Linked DNA regions of Homo sapiens: region 1 is linked to region 2. Evidence: promoter capture Hi-C in human tissues and cell types (Jung and others, 2019). All regions are on one chromosome and are shown on one strand. Each heading gives the region's core, a stretch centred on a gene start or on the middle of the fragment in contact. The rest is flanking DNA. Distances are from core to core; before and after follow the strand shown. Region 1 has its middle 97 kb from the start of NKX2-1-AS1. Region 2 holds the start of NKX2-8 (NK2 homeobox 8).

Region 1 (6,904 bases), core at 533-3,032, 160 kb before region 2:
TAGGGTAGGGGAGAAGTCTACATTGAGAAACAATAAAAGTATCAGTCACTGTGGAGGTTAGAAGGTTGGCCTGGCTAAATGAGTTTAGATTTCAAATGATTGACACTAGGAAGCCTATGGAAGTTCTTGAGAGAGAAGTGACATCATGCAAAGGGGTCTAAAGAAGCCAATTCTAATAACTGTGTCCAATGGGTTGAAGAGGAAAGAGACTATATGTGTATGAGGGTAGAAAGGGCACTAGCTCAGGGGGTGTCTTTGTAGCCCAGGAGCACAGTTGTCCATCTTACACTAAAGCAAGTGTTTGCTGATTTGGGACCAAACCAAGGATTAAGCTTTCTGGTGTATTATAGTAGGCATCAACTTTTCAAGTTAAAAAAAATTGATGCAATCTATTGGTCTCTTGCCTCAAGAAATAAGGTAGAAAAAAAAAACAACATTGAGATTGTGGCTGCTCAGGGTCATCCATTATGCCAAATAAAATGTTTTTATAGGGCCTGAAGTTTGCTAAACATGACTGCTAGTACTCTATCCCTGCTGAAATAGGATGTTTATCCAGAGGGGATAAATGACCTCACAAAAAGGTCAATTGCATTAATTAAGAGGGTTCTACTTTTGCTAGAGTTGGCCGTATTTTGGTAAAAAATAACACTATTTTAAAAATAAGCCCCAAGCAGTAAATTTACAGATCCAAGAAAGCAGCGACTATCTTCCATATATGCAATCAACCCATGTGTAGTCTTGTCACCACACTGTAGCATGCAGCTGATTGACACTCAGCAGGGCAAAAAAGCACAAGTGGAGCCAAAGATGTAATGATGAGGGCCTCCAGTGCCTGTTTTTGCTTAGACTAGTGATTCTCAGCCCTGGTAGGGCATCCTTATCTCCTGGGGAGCTTTTCAAAGATAAATGATGCTGGACCCTTGCCAAAATCTGAATCTCCAAGGATGGAGCCTAAATATATCTATGTGTATGTCATCTGCATACTGCTGGAGTTGTGAGCCACTGACTTAGATGGTGAAGCTGAAATGGTCTCCCACAAAATTGCATACACTTGAGTGCACACACACACACACACACACACACCTGGGATAGCCAATCAAGCTTGCCCATTTTTTCTTATAAACAGAAGTGTTTGTTCACAGATATTCTGGGAATATTGGGTTCTCAGAATCTTTACATTCTTCAACCATTTTAAGATCAGTCTCTAGGATTTTCTTAAACCTGAGTACTATTGCAACATAGGATTCCCAAACACCATGACCTTCTTACAGAGTTTTCCTGAGAGTAGATGAACCCTCCCTCACTGTCCTGTGGGATAACTGGAAGGACAACCCTTCATTTGCATTCTATCCTCCGCCCTGCAATATTCTCTGGAATCCACATTCCTTCCTGATCCCTCTTCCAAGAAATAAGAATCGGGGAAGGAAATAGTCTCTGAGGGAAGAATCTTTGTCCCAGGAACCAAGTTACAGAGGAGCCGCTGAATTCCCTGAGGTAATCTCCATTGAATCAAAACACAAAGAGGGAGGTTAATTCAATTAGCAAGTGATGCCTTCTCCTAGAATAAACTTCTTGGACTAATTTGGGGAGGGAGCCCCGAAGACTGGTGCCCACACTGCAAACAGAGAAAATATTGGAAATGCTTAGAGTCTGCCATCTACCCAGCCGTGGCTGTTCACCTTAATATTATTTCTTGAAAAATGGCCAATGTGTTAGACTCTCTAGGACACAGAGCTGTGGTCACAAGATAAAGTACACAGATAAGACATGGAGATATGGAAGGGATAAAAATACTCTTCAGGGAAATGGGGGTCTGCAGTACAAAGGTTGAGAGCTTTAAGGGAACATTTCACATTCTGGCTTTTAAGTACACTGAAAACACACTTCCTGAGAGAAATGCATCTTGAGAGTACACTCAGCGAGGAGGAAGAAATTCTTATAAGACAATTTTTGGGAGAAAAGGAAGGTTTTTTATTCAAGTCAACATGGTGTTTTGCATGTAATAGAACCAGAGAAATATTTGTTAAATTGAAAGTTATTTCAGTATAGATTGTGGTCATGTTTTCATCCTATAATTTGAAAAAGATCCTCAGAATATTAGAGATGAAAGGGATCTTGATATTGTCAAACATCTTATCCAGAGCCCCAGTACTTACTCGATTCAGGTGGGATGAGCATCTCACTGAGGGTCTGGGATCTTCCTGCTGGGTCTTCCTTCTGCAGTGGCCCCTGAGCAACCTTGAAGAAGCCCAAAGTCTTGGGTGATCATGGTTTGGAAGCCTTCAGTCTAGCACCTCAGTTTTTACAGATGACTAAACTAAATTCAAAATGTGTGAGAGTCAGAGCCAACTGCTCTTTTCACCATATCAAAATGAGGTTCTGCTAGAGGGACCCCTGTCCCTTTCTTTTCCACAGCTGTGGATATTTTGCCCTGGACTTGTGAAGCACAAATGCAGTGAAAAGAGTACGGGCTTGGGGATCAGTCAAACCTGGGTTTGAATGTTGGCTCTGCACTTATTTGCCCTGTATTCTGGGACAAATTATTTATTTATATTTTAGAGTATATATTTTTCTCTTTTTTAAAGCTTTTTTGAGGTACAGTTGATATACCAAAACTGCATGCATTTAATGCATACATCTTAATGAGTTTGGACAAATGCATACACCTGTGATACCATCACCACAACCAAAGTATTAAACATGTCCATCACTTTGAAAAATTTCCTTGTGTAACTTCTGTGTGTGTGTGTGTGTGTGTGTGTGTGTGTGGTTTTGTTTGCTTGTTTGGTAAGAACACTTAACATGAGATTTATCCTCTTAACATATTTTAAAGTGCACAATATTGTGTTGTTAACTATAGGTACTATATTATGTAACAGATCTCTAGAACTTATTCATCTTGCATAACAGAATCTTTATAATTTGGACAAATTATTTAATCTCACTGAGCCTTCACTTCGTTTATCAAGTGGGGATAAAATTCACATTTTAGGTCTTAGCAATGTATAAAAAGTGCCTGGTGTGTGATTTGGGCTCAGTATGCGTTAACACCCTCTTTCAGGCAGGCAACTGAGGATTTGAATATAGAGACAAGAGAGGTGGGGGTGCTGTCATAATAGTAGCAATAATAATGATACGTAATACTTAATACTATGCACCAGGTTCTACTCTTGGCATTTCACATAGTTTAGCTCATTTAATCTTCAGAACAACCCCACGCAGTAGGTACTATTCTTTAATCCCCATTTTACAAGGAATAACGCTGGGGCACAGATTGGTGAAACTGCTTGCTCAAGGTCACAAAGCTAACGAGTAGGGAAGTTGGAATCCTGATGTGGCTCTGAATCATACTCTCAATTAGCATATACCATTTCTGCAAAGGTGCAGATAGAAGGCAAGAGAGGGCCAAAGTAGGGGGGAAATGGAGATGATGCATGGTTGGTTTGGGTGAAAGGAACGTGTAGACTTGGCATTAAAAGGCATCTTTCCATGGACAGAAGTATCTACAGAGCAGGGAGTTCACAATTCTAAAGCAGAGAAAACGGCGACCTCTCTTTCTCTGTCTCTCTCCAAATATGTATTCAGTCATATGCTTCATAGCAATGGAATGCATATACAATGGTGGTCTCATAATGGAGCTGAAAAATTCCTATCACCTAGTGATATCATAGCTGTTGTAACATTGTAGTGCAATGCATTCCTTTTTTCCGTGTTTAGATACACAAATACTTAACCATTGTGTTATAATTGCCCAGAGTATTCAGTGTAGTAACGTGCTCTACAGTTTTATAGCTGAGCAGCAATAGGCTACACCATAGAGCCTCGGTGTGTAGTAAGCTACACCATCTAAGTTTGTGTAAGTGCACTCTACAATGTTCACATGATGAAGAAATCGCATAACAATGCATTTTTTAGAACATATTCCTGTTATTAAGCAGTACCTGATGGTACAGTTTATATATCTCTATCATTTATCTATCATCTATATTTCAATACATCAAACTATCATATATTGAGCACTTACTGTATGTCAGTACTTTCATGCATTCCCTTATTTAATCTTCACAACAGAATCCTGTGAGACAGGGCTTTTATCCAGATTTTAGGAGGTAAAATATCTTGCCCACCGCCACACACTTAATAAATAGTGGTGCTAGTATTTAAAGTAGCCAGTGGGCCTTTAATGCTGTGTGATCCCCAAGTGTTTTTTCCTATACTAGTTATGAAACTACTTTTCATACCCCTTCTTTACTTCCAAATTATTTTTATCTACCAACACTAAAATAGTGTATTTATGTCAATGGTTATATAAGTCTTCACTTGTGACCTCCCAGGCCCTATTCTAAGTTCACAAATGACATTTTAATATTGTCCTTTTCTAGGGAGAGCCTCTCCTAGCAGGCCACAGTCTCAAACTTCTTTAAACATATGACCTTTGCCCTATTGTCACTCTTTTGTACAGCACCACAGTGGGTCAAATTATCTCCCCTGTCCATAAACAACTGCACTTGTGAAGTAGAAATGACTATTAAAAAGAGTGGTGGGACCCCCTGTTGGGAACTCTAATAGGCTCGGCCAGGGACCAGAGAACATTACTATCACATCCATATGTGTCCTCTTACCAGGGTCAGCCTCATGGAAACAGGCACAATAATAGCTTCAGACAAAAGCCGGGGATGATATCGAACTGACTTTCCCAGGAGAATCCTTTCTCAGAAGGCCACGACATTCTTGATTAGAGGCAGCGAGTCAAAGAGGAGGAATGGATGTGAGGTTTTTTTTTTTCATATTTAAAGCTGGTGAAATTAATTCGTATATGCTCTCCCAGGGATCTTTATTTTTTTTAACTGAGCCTTTAGTTTGGTCACTCAAAGTGAGGGGCTCATCAAACACCAAGCCTGTTCCTTTCACTGTGAAGAGTGTAACAGAAAGTATGTTGTTATTGGTATCTGTTGTTTAAGCAAGACAGGCAAACTAAAAGCTCTGCAACATCAGCCACATCACCCACCTTCACTCTCATCATAGTTTTACAATTGCATGCTTTTTATTTGACTGATCAGAGGCCAGGTTTACAAAAACTTTTTAAAAGACAAAGCAGGTTATTTGCACCTGGATTAAAAAGACCATTTGTTTTAAGCTTAGGATGCTAATGATGATGGAAAATAGAAACATCTTTATTTCTATGGAACACACGAAGTAATTCTGCAAGGACATTTTCTGTGTGGATCCAGTTTTTTTTTTTCTGTTGCAATGAATGTAATTTTATTGTCGTGTGTCAAAGTTTATACTCCTGCTGTAAAGCATCTCTTCAACTTTAACAGCATAAGTGAAATCACCCAAGTGTATGGCCTCACTGGTAATATGGCTTTTAAAATATTTAAGCCCTTCTCCTTTATACCCCTTGTCATTAACTGGTAAATTACTAATTTATTTCCTATTAGAATTTATATAGTTTGCAGCAATTAAGAAGAAAGGGATAATTGCTGACAAACCCAGGGCACTATTTAAATCACTTCCTTGTTGACAACATATTTCTCTTTCCTCAAACTGAATGTCACTGAAATCTGATTTGTACAGAACCCTTGTGGACGAGCATGCTGCACCTGTCACCTGGGCGCTAGCATTCTGCTAAGGATCAATTTACATAACCTCATTTAATGGTTCATAAATCATACCCATTAAGCCCAGCTAACAGGAACCAAGGGTTCTAATTTATGCTGCCTTTCATAGCAGAAAATTGGGAGGCTGGAGCCTGTGGATAAAGAACCCAGGTCTTGCCTTTGATTGTTGATTGTGATGGTAAATGTATGGATGATGAGAACAGATTTTCACTTTATTGATTTCCTGCCAAAGCACAGCATGCTTTATTGTGAAAGGGCGCCTTTTGGCAGCAATGCTAAAAGTGGCAGTTGTTTAGGAGCCCTTTGCCAAGATGAGGTCTAAGACAATACAGAGTGGTAAATACTAAAATAATATCAAGATGAAATGTTATTCTGTAAAAGAAAAAATCAGAACCTCTAACATTTTGGAAATCAGTGACCTTTTCTCCCCAGTAGCACCCCTCCCCCACAAAAGCATGTGCATCCAAGAATCAGGACAAGATGGTTTTAAGAAATGAAAAAAAGCAATGTTTCTATATCCTGCCCTAAGTTACTTGCTGATGGTGGCTCATGCAAAATAATGCAGATGTCTAGAATCCTTCAGATAATGACATTTCAGCCAGAATGCTCTACTGGGCCAAGTCTGCAGACTCTGCACTCTCTCTTCTGCCATGTACTGCTTTTTGGTTGAAAATCCGGAAGAACCATTTTTCTATTTCATTTTTCCCTTTTAGGTCAAAATATTGTATCCAACTATATATAGTTTTCTGCAAAATGCAATATATAAAAGGTCATCTTCTCACAAGTGCTTGGGCTGGATTTCAAAATAGCAAAAGTGGTCCTAAGATCATTTTCCAGATGAAAAACATCTCTTAAGTATTGCTGAGGCATATTGATTCCCTTCTCTCATCTCAGTTCTGCCCTATAATGGACAATGTATATTCTCATTTTAGCTTGTTCTCAAAATCTTTGTTAAACATGGTGATTTTTTTTCCGATAAAATGTAGTGCCTTCTTCCCGCCCCCCAACCCCCATTTCTCTCCTCAATGCAGGCTTTTCTGAAACACTTTGACTTTTATTCCAGGTTGGATGTCACTGAGGATAGTCACTGACATGGATTACAAACACTGTGGACTCTGCCCCACCCCTATCTTTAAATTCTGAACCTGCCCTGTAGAATATTGGTTGGAGCCGTGCAAGACAATGGAAGCAAGCTTGGCAATCACTTCTGTCTGCTTTTCTGTCCAGTGTGAAGTGTCTACTGCTTTGTTACACTGATCCTTCTTCATAAGAAAAAAAATCAA
Region 2 (7,142 bases), core at 2,345-4,844:
CTTCAGAAATCATTACCTCCTTTTCTTTCACATCTGCTGTGCCAGAGCTAACTGGGAAGCCCCCTGGCAGGTCCCAATATCTGTCTTACAATGTTCAAGCTCCCTCCCCAGCAATCATTTATTAGAAAGGGGTTTTATGATACAAATTTGATAATCTCCCATGCACACTGGCACTGTTCTAATTGAAGTTGTAAGCCCATAAAATTCAAGCCCTTTGTCTTCCTGAAGGCCACAAGGTTTAAAAAGATACTATTGTCCTGCCTAACACCCACTACATTGTCACCAGGGACTGATTAAACAGAGTCCTGAATCCAAACAGTGCGGATTTTGTCTAGGTCCTTTTCAGGCCTGACAATGCCCTTTTCAGTTCCCAAGACAAAAAGAGGTTTAAGGATCGAGATTCTTCTAAGATAACCGCATCCATATGGAAGGCAAGGTGGCCGGCAGCTGAGACCCAAACACCCCACTCCCTTCCCCCTCTCCCCTTCTCTCTTTCTCTCTCCACCCCCCAAAATCCCAGGTGATAACACTGCCTCAGCCACCCTTCATCCTCCCCTTCTTCCTCCTTGGACAAGAAAGCTAGAGCCCCTAACAGGCCCATGACTCCTCCTTAGAGACCTCCATAAGGGCCCTTGGCTCCCTTCCCCGCACCTGATGCCCCAACTGCTCTCCTCTGGCGCATCTCCCAGCAGCGGGTGCCTGGGAGCGAGGTCGTCGCTTCTGTGAGAAAGTGACTGCTTGCACAAGAGGCCCTAGCGGGGCAGTTACAAATCCAAGGGGTGCTAGTGTGCACTGGCCGGGGTGGACCTGCCCCAATCTCGGATTCCCAAGGCTCCCCCAGGCGGCCCTCCCTCAGCTGGGAGTCGCGTCCTCCCGGATCTGCCCAGAGGAAAAGCCCTGTGCCGGTCGTTCCCCCGACCCTTTGATGTCTTCACGTCCTCCTCCCCACCCTGGCCAGGTACTGCGCCATGAGGAGACAGGAAATCACAGCTAACTTAGGCACTTGCAGGCTTAAATAGGGGTTACAAATTCCCCGGTGCTCTTCAGGTCCCCAGGCACTTTTCAAAGGGTCCCCGAGCACTTGGCTCCTGCACTCTGGAAACAGCTTGCGGCCCGGCCTGGGCTGCTCCGGTGCAGCGCGCCCCGCACCTGGCCTCGCCGGCTCATCTCCGGAGAAACTCCTTCTGCCCTGTCGTGGTCCACAGGGTTGACTTTTCGGTATTCGAAACGCCAGCAGCTCTGGGAGCCCAGCGGAGAGTCGGAGTCACTCTGGGGCCAGTGACGCCTCCCGCTGACAAGAATCCCAAAGTTGCCTCAGCTTCCTCCTCTCCTTTTCTTCCCGCGCCCAACCCTGACATCACCACCCCTCCATCCCCCAGGTATCTTCCTAAAGCCGTGTCGGGACTGCAACCCGCCCTTCGATCCAGCTGGGGCCGGGCCCCACTTAGCCAGTCAAGGGGCGAGCCAGCGATGCGAACACCGGTCTGGGGGGCACGACTCCCGCCTACGTTCCCCGCAGGCGCGCAGGGGACCCAACCCCACACATTTTATTCTCGAACTACGAGGAAAAATACTCTATTTTTTAAAAAAATAACTTGCTTCCTATACAAATCGCTATTTAAAAATATACAAATAAGGCCCAAGCATAAAATCTAACTCTGGGGCTGGCGGTGGAGGGAAGGTGAGGGAGGGGGCTCTGGCACACGTCCCTCGTGTGTGCTTGCGCGACGGCTGATGAGGGCGCGCCAGGGACCCTGGCGCCCAAGGAGATGGGGCTGCAGGGAGGCGGACGGAGAGCGTTCCAGGCGTTCGGCTCCGGCCCTGCTCCAATCGCAGAGCGCGCTCCAAAGTCGAGGGTAGCCCCAGGTGCCGCCCTGCGGCCTCACCAGTTCCAGGAGACCAGGGCGGGGGATGCTAAGTGCTGGTAGGCGGGGAAGAGGCCAAGCGCCGAGCCGGGACCGAAGGCAGGGTAGCCCGGCAGAGGGCAGGCGGCGGCTGGAGGGGCGCCGCACTTCTCCTGGGCCGCGGCGGTTCCCACCTCGCCACCGCCGCCGCCGCCGCACGGCTGCCCGTCGCGAACAAGCACCGGCACCACCACGCGACGCAGCAGGCCGGGCGCGGCGTGCAGCTCGGCGGATGCTGCCAGGTCAGGCGACTCCGCCGCCCCTGGAGCGCGAGCGCGCTTCAGCTTGTAGCGATGATTCTGGAACCAGATCTTGACCTGCGTGGGCGTGAGGCGAAGCAGGCTCGCCAGCTGCTCGCGCTCGGGCGCAGACAGGTACCGCTGCTGCCGGAAGCGCCGCTCCAACTCCAGCGTCTGCGCCTTGGAGAATAGCACCCGCCGCTTCTTCCTTTTCTCGGCGTCCGAGCCCGGAGACGCGGGCCTAGCGGACGGCCGCTGCGACGAGTCTGGCGGGCTGGTCTCCAGGCTGCTCTCGTCCGAGGCTAGGGACAGCAAAGGAGACACGGGTGGGTGAGACGCCGGACCCTACGAGGGCCTGCTGCCCTTCTGGCGCGGGCGTGGAGGCACTGGCCAGAGGGCACGCCCACTAGCCCGAGACTTTCGGGATGAGGCCATTTCCTGAGTCCACATCTGGACATCCACCTCTCCGAATGCGGTGACCTCATTCATACCACAGCGGTCATCAGCGGGCCTGAGATCGTGCCCCGAAAAAACCCACCCCGGGGCCCTCTTAACATGTCCGCACCGGTAGTTGCGCTGGCCGACCAGTTTATCACAAGCTGGGTCACCAGCGCCGGCCTCCTCCAGGTCGACTGCACTGCAGTGTGCCGAGGTTTGCGGAGCCCTGAGTGGGAACGGGGTGGGGGTAAACTCGCCAACACTGGCCATCCCAGACGGAGGCCTGGAGATCGTGGCCGTGTTTTCAGGCATGGAGAGGGGGCGGGGGGTGGGGTGGGGGCGGCAGGTGGCGGCGCGTTTTAAATTTCAATTATTCCGACCTCTAGAAATCGTCAGACACAGAAACCCCAAATCTCGGAGCACCAGTGCCAGGCAGGGATCTGCTCTTAGGATGTGCCGACCGGGATGAATGCGTTAGGGGTTCGAGGACAGGGCTCCCGTTTCCAAGACTGAGGAAATCTAGACTCTGGGCTGGGATTTCGGCTTTCCGGCCCCTCGTGGGCTGGGCCCTTGATTCTGCTGCCCCACGCCTCCTACCTCCCACCCCGCACCGCAATCCACCACGCACTTACAAGGGTAGTGGCCGCGCTCCGAATCCAGCCAGGCGGCGCAGGGGTCGGGCTGGGGGGCGCGTGGTTCTGGCTCCCGCCTCGGCAGGTGTTGCGCGTCCTGCTCGGGTAAATCTAGAAGGCTGCGCACGGTGAAGCTCAGGCGTCCAGAGGTGGCCATGGCCGAGGAGGGGAAGGAGGCGGGGGCAGGGCAGGCTGGGAACGGAGGGGCGGCCGGGACGCCGCTCCTACGGATGGGCGTGGGAGGCGCTCGCCATGCGCTGGCAGCCGGGATATTAGCGCATTTACAGCGGAATCTCTGTTTATATAAACAGCTCTTCCCACCCAGGCCGCTTTGAAAGCCGAGGTCCGGGTCTCCAGGGTGTTAAGTACCTGAATGAGCACTGGACCAGAGCCGGGGCGAGCCCGGAAGGTGCCACCTCCGCCCCCGCCCCGCCCCGCACCCCGCCCCGCACCCCGCCCCTTGGCGCCCAGTTACCTCCCAGAGGCTGCAGGAAGCAGCATTTGGCATTAGCGATTCTGTCTGATTAGCCCAAAGTGGGGACAGATAATGGGGATTGTTACCAGTGAATAACATCTTGGGTGGCGAGCGGTGGCCACCACCCGCCTGACCCAGCCCCAGCTTCCTCCTCCTCCTCCTGGGCTGACTTGAGGCCAGGCCCCGCGGGAGCGCCGGGAAGGGTGGGGGTGGCAGGGGTGGGTTTATTAGCACCCAGGAATTTATTCCCTGTTTGCTTTATTCTTCGAGCTTGTTTGCTGGAGTGGTAGTTTCCCGCAATTATCCAGAAAGTGATTTACAAAGCGGCGTTAAACTCTGGCGCGCTCCCTTTCTCTTTTTGGTTGGGCCCCTCTAAGATTCAGGATGACAAGTTTCAGGAGGGCGTAAAGATTAGCCTGGCCCTGCCAGCATTGGCCCAGGGGTTTCAACGGCCGCTGGGAGCCTCGGATCACACCATACATCCCCCTAACAGCCTCAGAGGTGCTGAGGAAGGGCTGGGACAACATTCGGAGCCCCAGCTCCACGTCTCCACAGGCCGGCAAAACAGAAGAGGCTTGTAGCCAAGCTACTTAGGTCTACAGTGCCTGTCTCTTTGGCCCAGCTTCGCCCGGCCGCTGCCGATCTCGGAGCTCGGAGGCCGAGCTCCACAAATTTGGGTCCAGGCCCGCTTTAGAGCCCCTGGGCGGGGGCGCTTCTCAGGGCATCCTGTGAGGGCTTTGAGGCCTCCTTGGAGTCGCCAGATGAACTGGTGCCGCCTGTGCGCCTTGGCCCCATAGCCTCAACGGCACTCTCACTGCCTGGGCTTTGGTCTTTGCCCAGGAGCCTGCCCATGGCCTACGCTCCCCGCTCGCAGCATGGCAGACCCTGACGAGGCTGCCCGCCTTGGTCCGGGAATGGACCGATCGGGAGAATTAGGACAGGGCCTACCCGGCAGAAAATACCACCGGCCATGGGTTTCTCTGGGATCTTCTAGTTTCCACAGTTCCACCCTAGAAAATGATCAATGTAGGAGGCGCAGGGAACAGGCCGCCGTGGATACATTTTGTTGGGCCATGGCCTAGCTCTGGCCGCGCTTCAATCTACAGAGGAACGCCCTCTCAGAGGCCTCTCCTACTGAAGCTAGTAGTTTGGATATTTAGTTGCTAAATTGTAGCGAAGGGCTCTGTACTTGGGTGGCTGCACCAGAAGTCCTGGCTCCTCCCGGGCTGAACTCGAACCTGGCTCGGATGCGGCGGCGGCGGCCCTGTCAAGCCCCGCGCACCCTCCCCAGCAGCCTCCCTATCAAGCGTGCCCGAGGTGCCCGGAGCTGCACCGCGCGCTGGGTGGTCGGGCGGAGGCAACCCCAATACAGGCCAACTGCTAGGCCGCGGACAAAGGGGAAATGGAGCTCGACGCCCCGGACCTGTTGGAAGCATTTGTTCCAGTCAAGATTTTGCATTTGTTCAGTCCGGAATAATGCATGATTGACGTCTGCTCACAATGCGCTTTAACGCGCCGGGATAAATCGGAGCTTGTCCGGTGTTGTCATGGTTTTCAATGGGGTTCAATGGGATTGGGAGCACGATCGACTCTGCTGGCCGTCTTTCCGCGGCCCTGGCAATAGATTTATTAGTTATGTCTTTTTAAATAAGATTAAACTGAAATGACTTGGCTGTCCTCTCTGCAGACGGGGCCGGGGCGGGAGCCTGGAGTGGGCAGGGGACAGCGGAGTCTGGAAACCCGCCGCGCACCGCTCCTCAGCTCCCGAGCCCCCAGCGTCTAGAGAGTGGGCAGGTCGCAGACTGGCTCCAGGCCTCGTGGACTTATCTCTGGCCAGAGCCCGAGGCCTGGCAATCTCTGCCAGCCCACCTCCCTAGTGAGAAGCTGAGGCACTGACAAAGACCGTCCTGGGGAAGCAAGTGTTAAGACTGATTCCCAAATTCGGTCTTGAACTATGAGATTGTGTAAGGTAGAAGGAGCTCTGGCCTGGAAATCGGTTCGCATCCTCGCTCTGCCCCTACCTATCTCTAACCACCTCATTTCTCTAAGCTTCCTTCCTTCCTTTTTTTTTTTAAAATTAATCTGATACAGAAGATAGTAGGAGAATAGATTTGGTAATTTCTAAGGACCCTACCAGTTTTATGATTCTGTATCTCAGGAATTTTTCTAAACCTATCTTCATTGTAGCATTTACCAGCCGGATATTTAGACTCCCTCCTCCCTCAGGTTCTCGAATTCTTAGCCCCAGGACTGACTCCGTCTCCAGGATGTTCTAGGAGAGGAGGTGTCATCTTTTGAGTTTCCCAAGGATCCTCCACAGGAGTAGGGTGGGGTGGATAACAATTTAGGGAAGAGAACCAAGTCAGGAGAAGCAAAAGAAGAGTCTTTCCTTGAGTGACTGACCTCTCTTAGCCTTTTAATCTATTTAACATCCTAAGCCCACACTGACGTGTAGAAATAAGTAAATGGCGCTCTTCAGCTCTTAAGAGCTCTTCAGCATCAAATATTTGCTTTTACTCTTAGTGTTTGGCTTCCAAAGCAGAGATACAGGCCCCATCTAGCACTTGTGCTCTGGGAAGGACTTTGCTCTGGGATTCGCTCCAAATATTACTTCTAGCTTCATGTTCACGGGCTTCGGAAACAGTGTTCCTGGGCCTTGGTCTGCATTTTAGATGTCCCATGGAAACCCTGTAGCTCCTGGTTCTAGAAAGGGCTGCAGCTTACCTGCTTCATCTTGGATTCCCTCCTCCTCTGCCATAAGTGCCTCTGCCATAGGCCAACCTTCCTCTCAGCTCTGCTCCGCGGATTTAGCTGAATTATCTCTGAGAGCTAGAACCGGGGGACTCCAAGAAATTGTTCAATATAAACTGTGCCTTCTGAAGAAATGCAGGAAAGCCAGAATTAGAGAAAGGTACTTTCTATATTGCCTTTTCACATCAGATAAATTCACAGACATGGGAGGGGAAAATTATTTTGATATTGGGTCAATAGGAAAAGACAGTCAAGCTAATCTTAAGTTTTTTACACATTGGAGATATATACGAATTGCCTCCAATTCCCAAGAGATTCTTAGAATCACAAGTAAGCATTTAACTGGACATTATTTCCAGATTTTCATATATTATTTGGTGTTCTGGACAATTGAACTTCTTTGCAACTTAACATACCATGTGAATATTATTATTTAATTAGCTAAGTAGTTGTTTTCTTGTAATTGGATGTAGTATATCTCAATTCCAGTAAGAGTTTTTAATGTTTAGGCACCTGTAATATATGAGTATATTTAAGCTGTCCACAATAATCATCCTTTCAGAAGTATTATCCAGAGATGATTATCACTACCACGTGCTTAAGATTTTAAGACTAGAAAATTCTGAAATAAAACTAAAGCATCTTGATTTTGAAAAAAATGATTGTGTCTATATCTTGCATTCCGTTTTTAAATCCTTCCATT

Evidence for each region. Contacts are between HindIII fragments. The study calls those that stand out against the background at their distance.
Region 1: a fragment that was not itself captured here is called in contact with the fragment with the promoter of NKX2-8 in region 2 in 2 of the 25 tissues and cell types used here (mesendoderm cells and thymus).

What each region holds. Positions count from the first base shown.
Region 1 is chr14:36,419,030-36,425,933 of GRCh38, forward strand. No RefSeq gene overlaps it. Among named protein-coding and RNA genes, the nearest start is that of NKX2-1-AS1, 97 kb to the right of the region's middle. The HindIII fragment of the contact is 4,158 bases long and covers 1-3,861 here.
Region 2 is chr14:36,579,020-36,586,161 of GRCh38, forward strand. It overlaps NKX2-8 (NK2 homeobox 8), which reads right to left and starts at 3,595. Exons shown (of 2, transcript NM_014360.4): 1 at 3,214-3,595; 2 at 985-2,445. The coding sequence starts at 3,370. The coding sequence ends at 1,883. RefSeq lists enhancers at 1,365-2,175, 2,176-2,986. The HindIII fragment of the contact is 13,278 bases long and covers 1-6,610 here.